Linked DNA regions of Homo sapiens: region 1 is linked to region 2. Evidence: promoter capture Hi-C in 16 types of primary human blood cells and fetal thymus (Javierre and others, 2016). All regions are on one chromosome and are shown on one strand. Each heading gives the region's core, a stretch centred on a gene start or on the middle of the fragment in contact. The rest is flanking DNA. Distances are from core to core; before and after follow the strand shown.

Region 1 (5,016 bases), core at 2,517-5,016, 220 kb after region 2:
GGCCCTGGCCAGGCCCCCGAGGTGGCCCCCACGCGGACAGCCCCTGAACGCTTCGCCCCCCCTGTGGATCGGCCAGCCCCCACCTACAGCAACATGGAGGAGGTGGATTAGCAGGTCCCTGGCTGATGGGGGGGACTGGGTTTGGGACACCCACACAGAGGGCCAGCTCCTTGCCGCTTCTCCTTCTCTAACCCAGAGGACACTGGCTCTGTCAATGGGAAGCTGAGGGGTATGATTTGGGTGTGGAGACCTCTCAGGTTGGGACTTCTTGTCAGCTTGGACCCCTGACCAGTGGGCTTTGGCTTCTCCAGCCGCCTCCAGTGCTGCGTGATTTGATTCTGTTGTACCTTCAATTCTTCTGACCCGCATTATAAACATTATAATTTTATTCTAAAAATTGTAATTTTTTTTGCATTTTGGAAGTGACTGCTGCTGTTTAAATATATTTTAAAAATAAATAATAAGTAAGTAGACTTAGTGACTGTGATCCACCACATGCTGGGGCCACCTCCCCTCCCCATCATTTGCGGTGTGTATGTGTGTGTATGTGTGTTTATATATGAGAGACCCTGAAAGTGCCCTAGTCTGAAGGGAGATGATGGGGTCCCAGCTCATGTCCTATGGGTCATGAAGCCCCCAGTGCTATCAGCTTTTTGGAGCCTACCTGCTGCTCTTTCATCCCACTGGTTCTGGATCCTACATAAGAGGCAGCTTGGTAGGCATCGTCAGGATCTCAATATAGCCAAGGGACAGAGGAGTATATGAAGCACTGGAGCTGACAGCGTGGAGTAAAAGGTGCATTCACCAGAGCAGCCTGGGGCTGACAAGTCAGGGAGGACTTGGGGGACAGAAGTACTGGGAGATCTTCCTCCTCCTCTCCTGTCCTCAGCTTTTTCTTTGCTGTAACTTGAACACTAACTGCATCCCTGCAGGTAACAGAGCAGGAGGAAAACTGCTGTGGGGCAGATCTTGCTGCCCTGAAAAGAGGACAAGCAGAGAGGACCAGAGTGAATCTTGTCTGACTTCTATTGGAGGGAGGGTGCTGGGGCCTGCCAGCCTGAAGAGTCTTCCCTTAAGAGTTCCTGAAGCCTTCCTTCTTTGGCCAGGCATGGTGGCTCACACTTGTAATCCCCGCACTTTGAGAGGCCGAGGCGAGTGGGTCATGAGGTCAGGAGTTCGAGACCAGCCTGGCCAAGATGGTGAAACCCCGTCTCTACTAAAAATACAAAAATTAGGTGCAGTGGCGGGCACCTGTAATCCCAGCTACTTGGGAGGCTGAGGCAGGAGAATCGCTTGAACCTGGGAGGCGGAGGTTGCAGGGAGCCGAGATCGCGCCACTGCACTCTAGCCTGGGCGACAGAGCAAGACTCCGTCTCAAAAAAAAAAAAAAAAAAAAAAGTTGCTGAAACTGGCCAAGTGTGGTGGCTTATGCCTGTAATCCCAGCACTTTGGGGCGAGGTGGGAGGATAGCTTGAGCCTAGGAGTTCAGGACCAGCCTGGGCAACATAGTGAGACCCTGTCTTTACCAAAAATATAAAAATTAGCTGGCTCTTATGGTATGCACTTGTAGTCCCAAATATTTCAGAGGCTGAGATGGGAGGATCGTTTGAGCCCAGGAGGTTGCTGGACCCTACCTCTGTCCATTCCACGACTGGGCCTTGCTGGCTGCTGCCTGGTTTTTCCACTTGGTCATCTTTGTCTTGACTTTTCCTGGAAGCAGTGCCAGGGGCTTATGCAGGCAAGCTAACCTCCAGACTGGGCCCATACAATTTAACATTTCTGCTTTGTGCAAGTCGTAGACATCTAGGGCACTAGCTGGATATCGACTGGTATGCTACCACTTGTGGCATTCTTGGTGACACTGGTGGGGCTACTGCCTCATTCTATGACTTGTAGCCATGGCGTCCACAGTGTACCATGAAGTAACCAGGGAAGGGAGTGCAGATCTTGATCTCATTGAGGGAGCCATCACTAGACCTGTAGGACTTGGTGATGGTGCTACAGTGAATCTATTGGCAGCATCAGGTACTGAGGAAATAGTGGCAGTGGCAGGCACTCTGCATGGCTTTGCTCACCATGGGCACCTTTATGGTGGGCTGGGTACTTGCAGCTTCAAATTTGGTGCACGGCTGGTGTGGCTATGGCTCTGCTTCTTGGTACCTGTCCTTAGCACCACTGGTCTGCATCCCCTGCTTAATTCCTGCACCTGGCCTTTCTCATGCAGTACACTGCAGGGCTAGGCATCTGGCTGGGGCCACGGGGCCATGGAGATGTGGGAAGCCCCAGGACAGCATTGGACCTGGATAGCGATACAGCATGTGGCCCTGGTCTGCACCTGGCATGTGATCATTAGGTGGTATCCAGATGTAGGCCCAGACTTGGAGGTTGGTCATTAATAATGGGATGTGGGCACAAAAGACACAGAATATAGATAAAGACTAGTCAGGATCCTGCCTATTCCTTGAAGGTCCAGAAGTATGAGCATCACCAATTCCTGCAAGAGCTCCAATCTCAAATGTGGGGATTTCCACCATCCCACCACCAGCTGCTCATTCTCTGCAACCCCCTACCTCAGTCCCTTACTACCTTAGTCCCTTTTCTCACACACACACAAAGTCTCTGTTCTGTTTCAGCCAGCAGGTCCTGGAAGTCCAGTGAGACTGTGGAAAGATCCCCAAGCACAACAGCTATAATCATGAAGCTATAACCATCTCATTTGTCCCACCCTCTCACAAGCTCAATAAAATATCCTCTCAAAGGCCTGCAGAGGGATTTCAAGGTCTAATTTGCTTGTGGTTTTCCTGATAATGCTTTGGCAAGAGGGTAAGTGTGGGATGAGATTTTTTTTTCTTTTCTTTTTTTTTTTTTGAGACAGTCTTACTCTGTTGACCAGGCTGGAGTGCAGTGGCACAATCTCGGCTCACTGCAACTTCCGCCTCCCAGGTTCAAGCGATTCTCCAGCCTCAGCCTCCTGAGTAGCTGGGATTACAGGCGTGCGCCATCACGCCCGGCTAATTTTTGTATTTTTAGTAGAGACAGGGTTTCACCATGTTGGCGAGGCTGATCTCGAACTCCTGGCCTCAAGTGATCCGCCCGCCTCGGCCTCCCAAAGTGCTGGGATTAAAGGCCTGAGCCACTGCGCCCGGCCAAGATTTTAAACCAAATCATCATAGAACTTATGTGAGGTCCCTCCTGGCCCAGACCCGTCCCTTCCCTTTCCTGGCCAGCTGTGTCCAAGTGGGCACCTGAAAACCGGCGGACTTATGGGGCCCCTGGATCGGTCATTCCACACATTCTCTACGATGGAGTCTGGATGAGGGATTTCCTGGGCTTCATTTGTTCAACTGTTTCCATGACAACTCCAAAGCTGTGGCGTCAAAAGCGTGACAGGGACTCGCATTTGCCCCCGAGGACAATTACTATATTGAGATGGAGTTACCAGGGCTGAAGTAGAAAAGTCAGAGCAAAACCACGCCTGTGTCTTCCTCCTGCCTCAGGGACGAACACCTTCCTTCCAGGTCCGTGGCAAATATCTCCAAAAGCCCTGCCGCCTGCCAACACCCCTTCAAGTTCCCAGTTCCACGGAGGCGGAAGCAAAGCCCCCGGAAAGGCCGGTTTGTCCGCCCTGTGTTGTTTAAAGGGGATAGACGACCTTGGAGCGCCCCGCCCCCTCCCGCCAAGGAAGGACCCCATTGGCTCTCCCCGGAGGCTTCACTCTCATTGGTCAGCGAGTGAATGCCGACCTGCAGACTGGGGCCTAAGTTTCTTTTAGTTTCCGGTGTCTCTGCAATGGCGGCTCTAGACTCCCTGTCGCTCTTCACTAGCCTCGGCCTGAGCGAGCAGAAGGCCCGCGAGACGCTCAAGAACTCGGCTCTGAGCGCGCAGCTGCGCGAGGCCGCTACTCAGGTGCGAGCCCCTCTGCCCCCGGCCTGGTTTGCAGACCATGCTGCAACGCAGCGCGGGGCGGGGTCCAGATCCCGACCTGCCCCGTTTGTCCCGCCCTTTCCTCTCACTGAGCGCGGGGCTTCTCTCTTGACCCCTCTGACCTCAGGCTCAGCAGACCCTGGGTTCCACCATTGACAAAGCTACCGGGATCCTGTTATATGGCTTGGCCTCCCGACTCAGGGATACCCGGCGTCTCTCCTTCCTTGTAAGCTACATAGCCAGTAAGAAGATCCACACTGAGCCCCAGCTAAGCGGTGAGACCCCTACCTGTCCTGCCAGTTCGCACCAATGCCTCCCTTCAGCCAAGACCCCTGTCTTCCCTTTTTGCCAAGTCCTCCAGTTTCTTTCTAGACACCTAGTTCTGCACAGGCACTGAGGCATGGAAGGGGTGGCCTATGGTGAGACTGACACGGGAACTGTCAGGGTCTGAGGGGGGATCCACTCTCGACACGTGCTTCTTTCTTCCCTGTGTTCTCTAGGGTGGTGGTGCCAGGGCTTAACTTTTCAGGAGGCCAGACTATCCTTGGAGTTTCATGAGATTAGGACCCTGTCTGTCCACTTCTTGGAGCAGAGATGCCACAAACTCACGGGCTCTTTCTTCTCAGCTGCCCTTGAGTATGTGCGGAGTCACCCCTTGGACCCCATCGACACTGTGGACTTCGAGCGGGAATGTGGCGTGGGTGTCATTGTGACCCCAGAGCAGATTGAGGAGGCTGTGAGTCTTTCCCCAGGCATCGTCTGCCTCCCCAGTCCTGGCCATGGAAAGGAGTGGCTCAGTTTCCCTCCTCAGGAAGACCCAGAGTGAGGGTGTGGGTTCCCAGAATATCTCTAAAGGTGGCTTTCCTGAACCACATGGTTTGGCTTTCTGCAGGTGGAGGCTGCTATTAACAGGCACCGGCCCCAGCTCCTGGTGGAACGTTACCATTTCAACATGGGGCTGCTGATGGGTGAGCAGGGCCTGGAACGGGGCTATATTGTTCTCTCTGGTCATGCCTTTTCTTCTGGGCACGAGTGAGAAGGAGGTGGGGGAAGGAACAGGAGTGACTTAAAGTGGTCTGGCTGGGCTCAGGC
Region 2 (5,153 bases), core at 1,629-4,128:
TTTGCTGGAACTGAAGCTCTGTGAGAACAGTGACCCCACCAATGTGCTGAGTTGCCATTTCAGCAAGGCAGACACCATTGGTGAGAGGCTGGGCTGGGGTCCCTGGTATGTGGTGAGAGAGTGTAGGACATTGTGGCTGATGGGAGGGAAGAGGGCATTATTTTATATGCCCTCTTTAGATTTGTTACCCAAATCATCTCGAGCTGTAGTTGCCAGTCCTGACCTGGGGGCCTATTCCTCCAGGAATTCTTATGGAGAGAACACTGGGCCTGCTCCTTGCCCATTTGTCTATGATAATGAAGATAAGGAAATGTAGATCCAAAGAAGTTTAAAAATAACTTATTTAAAAATCTCAGCAAGGTTTACAGTGAGCTACGATCCCACCACTGCACTGCAGCCTGGGCATCAGAGCAAGATCCTGTCTCTTAAAAAAAAAAACAAATCGCAGCCAGAAAATGGTGGAGCTAGCTTTTGAAGCCATATCTGAGTTAACTCCAAAGATAAGCTTTCTCGCTTTCTATGTTGCTTTTGCGCCATAAATGAGAGACACACGTTAGCAAAGAAGCATAGGGATACTTTCCAGGCATATGAGTGCAAGAGGCCACCCATGGGAGATGATTGATTTTAAGAGGTATCAGGGGGTTGATCCAGAGCACCTGTGAGCATCTGACAAGAAAGAGGATGAGCATTAGTTTGCCATGGCTGTCTTTAGCCTTGCATGTGGACAAAGCCCCAAGTGATATTTCTGCCTGTTCCTAGCAACCATCGAGAAAGAGATGCGGAAGCTATTCAACATCCCTGCGGAGCGTGAAACACGGCTCTGGAACAAATACATGAGCAACACCTACGAGCAGTTGAGCAAGCTAGACAACACTGTCCAGGATGCTGGGCTATACCAGGGTCAGGTAGGAGGGCCCTGGCCATTCCCCAGCAGGTAGCTCTGCCCAGGGTGTGTGGCCAGATACTTTTTGCTTCTAAGCATGTTGGAAGTGCGGTGGTTTGAACTCTCCTCATTTGGTTTCCCCTTTCACTCAGGTGCTAGTAATTGAGCCTCAAAATGAAGATGGCACATGGCCCAGGCAGACCTTGCAGTCAAAGTAAGTGAATTTTTTCTCCCTTGTTGTAGGCTCACATGTGCAAAAGAGACAGTCTTTCCTAAGGCAGTACTTGTACTAAGAAAAATTGTTCTGATTCAGATGAACAATGCCTATTTTGTATATCCAGAGTTCATGCTTCTGGATGAAGACCGTGGCTTTTGGTAGCAGGGCAGCATCTAAGGGAAGCCTGTCAGGATATCTCAGCAAGGTGGCGAGCCTCTGCTCGTGGAGAATGAGAAAAGGAGGAAGGGATATGAGGGATCAAGTCTAAGGTTGCTGCTCTACCAGGAGGTTGCTTTGTTTTTGTCACGCTTTTATTTTCTCCACATGTAGTTAGAGGCCTTGATGGATAAGAGGAAGGCTAAGGCATGGGGTTTTATATGACTTAAAAGTGATAGTTGAGGCCTGAGCATGGTGGCTCATGCCTGTAAGCTCAGCACTTTGAGAGGCCGTGGGAGGTGGCTCACCTGAGGCCAGGAGTTCGAGCCCAGCCTGGTCAACATGGTAAAACCCTGTCTCTACTAAAAATACAAAAATTAGCTAGGCATGGTGGCAGGTACCTGTAATCTCAGCTACTCGGGAGGCTGAGGCTCAAGAGTCGCTTGAATCCAGGAGGTGAAGGCTGCAGTGAGCTGAGATCGCACCATTATACTCCAGCCTAGGTGACAGTGCAAGACTCTGACCCAAAAAAAACAAAAACAAAAAAAAAGTGATAGCTTGATTCTACCTGTTTCTGCCCAGTGGCCTGTTACTCATTGTTGCCCTGGGAGCTTGCTGGGTGAATTGTTCAGCTACAAAACTTGGACTAAGGACACATCTGTTTCAAGAGATGTTCATGTGGTATGTGGAACTGTGCATGTTCTTAGGGAGATAAAGAAGTGATTAATTTTCGTTATGGTATAAGTTTTGGAAATTATATCTGTGTTCCAGTAGTTATGGGAATAATGTTGCGCTCTGTCCTTTTCCCTCTGTCAGGCCTTGGACTGTGACCATTACATAGTAGTGGGCTCCTAGGTCATTTGAGAACCATGAAAACTATGAGTTCTTAAGAGAAGAACTGTTAGAACCCCTGAAGTCCAGTCATGGACTCCAGTTTAAGAAACCCCGGTTGCCAGTTGTTGACAAGATAAATAAAATAGCTGTGGTAGGCATAGCTGTGCTCATCTTCACCCTGAGATATCCATATCCTAATTCCCAGAATCTGTTTCAGAATCTGTCATTATGTCAGGTGACATGGCAAAAGGGACTTTGCAGATGGGATTAAGCACAATGGTGAGTGCCTGTAGTCCCAGCTACCTGACAGGCTGAGGTGGGAGCATTGCTTGAGTCCAGGAGTTTGAGGCTGCAGTGAGCTATGATTCTGCCATTGCCCTCCAGCCTGGGCGACAGCAAGACCCCATCTCTTTTTTTTTTTTTTTTTTTTTTTTTTTAAAAAGGCCAGGAGCAGTGGCTCATGCCTGTAATCCCAGCACTTTGGGAGGCCGAGGTGGGCGGCTCACCTGAGGTTGAGAGTTTGAGACCAGCCTGACCAACATGGAGAAACCCTGTCTCTACTAAAAATGCAAAATTAGCCAGGCGTGGTGGTGCATATCTGTAATTTCAGCTACTTGGGAGGCTGAGGCAGGAGAATCGCTTGAACCCGGGAGGCGGAGGTTGCAGGGAACTGAGATTGCACCATTGCACTCTAGCCTGGGGAACAAGAGCGAAACTCCATCTCAAAAAAAAAAGAATGTCTGTTCACCAGTGAGTGAAGACAAGCCATAAGCCATACAGTGAGAGAAGAGATTTGTAATCCATGTCTGACAAGTTGTGTCCAGAATTTTTTTTTCTTTTTTTTTTTTCCCTGTGACGGAGTCTTACTCTCTTGCCAAGGTTGGAGTGCAATGGTGCGATCTCAGCTCACTGCACCCCCACTCCCGGGTTCAAGTGACTGATGCCTCAGCCTCCCGAGCAGCTGGGACTACAAGCTCCCACCACCATGCCCAGCTAATTTTTGTATTTTTAGTAGAGACAGGGTTTTACCATGTTGGCCAGGCTGGTCTTGAACTCCTGGCCTGTAGTTATCTGCCTGCCTTAGCCTCCCAAAGTGCTGGATTACAGGCATGAGCCACCACAGCTGGTCGTATATCTAGAGTTGCAAAGAAATTCCTACTAGTCAATACAAACAAGTCAGGCAACACTAGTAAAAAAAAGAGGCAAAAATGTAGAATTATATGCACATTCTGCTACTCAACAATCCTGTTGTTAGGCATATAACCAATAGAAATATATCCCATGTTCTCTTAAATACATATTTCAGGATGTTTGTGCTAGCACTGCTTGTCATAGTTACAAACTGGAGCTAACCCAAATGTCCATCAAAAGTAAATGGATAAACTGCAGTAAGTGTAAGCACACAAGGAAATTCTGTCCAGCTTTGCACAACAGTGATGAGTCTAATGAAAAATGATGAATGAGAGAAGGTAGACACAGAGCAGGGCATAATGATTCTGTTGACTTAAAACTTTATAACAGGCAAAATTAACCTTGGGGATTCATGGTCAGAACTGGTTAGTGTTGGGAAGAATTGCGACTGAATCGTGAGAAGGACACCTAGGGGTCTGGGGGTGTCCTGTTTCTTGGTCAGGGTAGTGGTTACATGGATGTATCACTTGGTGCAAATTTCTTGATTTTATACACTCAGGGGTTTTGTTTTTTTGTTTTTTTAATAGACGGAGTCTTGATCTGTAGCCCAGGCTGGAGTCCAGTGGCATGATCTCGGTTCACTGTAACCTCTGCCTCCTGGGTTCAAGCAATTCTGTGCCTCAGCCTCCTGAGTAGCTGGGATTACAGGTGCATGCCACCCATGCACAGCCAATTTTTGTATTTTTAGTAGAGACGGGGTTTCACCATGTTGGCCAGGCTGGTCTCGAACTTCTAGCCTCAAGTGATCCGCCTGCCTCGGCCTCCCAAAATGCTGGGATTACAGGCATAAGCCACGGCGCCCGGCCAAAAAAAATCAATAATAGGCCAGGTGCGGTGGCTGGCCAACATGCTGAAACCCCATCTCTTAAAAAATAGAAGAAAATTAGCCCGGTGCAGTGGCACATGCCTGTAATCGTAGCTACTGGGGAGGCTGAGGCATGAGAATGGTGGTGGGGATTGCAGTGAGCCTAGATCGTGCCACTGCACTCCAGCTTGGGCGATACAGTGAGACTCTGTCTCAGGAGAAAAAAAAAAAAAAGGTACAATAATAATCAAGGTTTAAGAAAGCAACTAGTATCTATAATATTCCAGAGATAAATTCTGGGTAATTCCAACATAGGTGAGGAATTAGTATAGAGCAGAGAGAGATGAGAATGTCCAGAACTACTATTCTTGAGGATGAGAAAGGTGAACAATTGTAAGTTTATGTAATTTATGGGGAAAAATAAAAATAGAGATCCTAATAAGTTAATGGAACAACTAACAGAAACGGAAAATTGAATGTATAACTTTGAAACATACTACGTCAGTTAGGAAAGGCTTGCTGGCAGGTAAGAAAAATCTGCAAATTAGCGTATTAAGCAAGATGGAGGCTTACATCTTTCTGAAAAGAATTTCTGACGTAGGCAGTCAATCCATTGCTGACGTAGCAGCTCCATGGCAATATTAAACCCAGCTGACCTACCCCTTCCTTTTTAGGACATTTCTCAGATATCATACATCAAACCTCCTTTGTATCTCATTGGCTAATCATATGACAATACCTGGCTTTCAGGAAGGCTGGGATGTACTGTATAGCAGGACTGCATCATGTCCAGCTAAAAACTGGGGTTCTCAAACTAAGGAAGGAGGGGAAAATAGCTAGCAGGAGGCGACTAGCAAACTGCCACACCTGCAAAAGGAAAATTAATGGAAGGCAAAAATGAAGGGGGGAAAAAATAAGAAGTATGGTAATTAGAAAGCATGTTAGAACATGTGGAAAAAGGGGGAAAAAAAAGAAACCTGAAATAAGGAGGCTGAATTAAATTCAGTGAAGTCTAATAACAGCATTAGAATCACTGTAGATGAGTTAAATTTACCAAACTAAAGACA

What was found. Contacts are between HindIII fragments. The CHiCAGO score rates a contact against its expected background, and 5 or more counts as called.
Region 1: the fragment with the promoter of QARS1 here is called in contact with a fragment that was not itself captured in region 2 in 2 of 17 cell types (erythroblasts and endothelial precursors); the score reaches 5.3 in erythroblasts.

The regions. Positions count from the first base shown.
Region 1 is chr3:49,103,507-49,108,522 of GRCh38, reverse strand. QARS1 (glutaminyl-tRNA synthetase 1) reads left to right here and starts at 3,766. Exons shown (of 24, transcript NM_005051.3): 1 at 3,766-3,906; 2 at 4,052-4,199; 3 at 4,551-4,660; 4 at 4,817-4,892. The coding sequence starts at 3,790. USP19 (ubiquitin specific peptidase 19) reads left to right here. Exons shown (of 27, transcript NM_001199161.2): 27 at 1-473. The coding sequence ends at 111. RefSeq lists enhancers at 2,592-3,241, 3,435-3,594, 3,805-3,994, 4,544-5,016. The HindIII fragment of the contact is 7,394 bases long and covers 1-5,016 here.
Region 2 is chr3:49,320,646-49,325,798 of GRCh38, reverse strand. It overlaps USP4 (ubiquitin specific peptidase 4), which reads left to right. Exons shown (of 22, transcript NM_003363.4): 4 at 1-80; 5 at 760-905; 6 at 1,036-1,097. Among named protein-coding and RNA genes, the nearest start is that of USP4, 17 kb to the left of the region's middle. The HindIII fragment of the contact is 4,741 bases long and covers 508-5,153 here.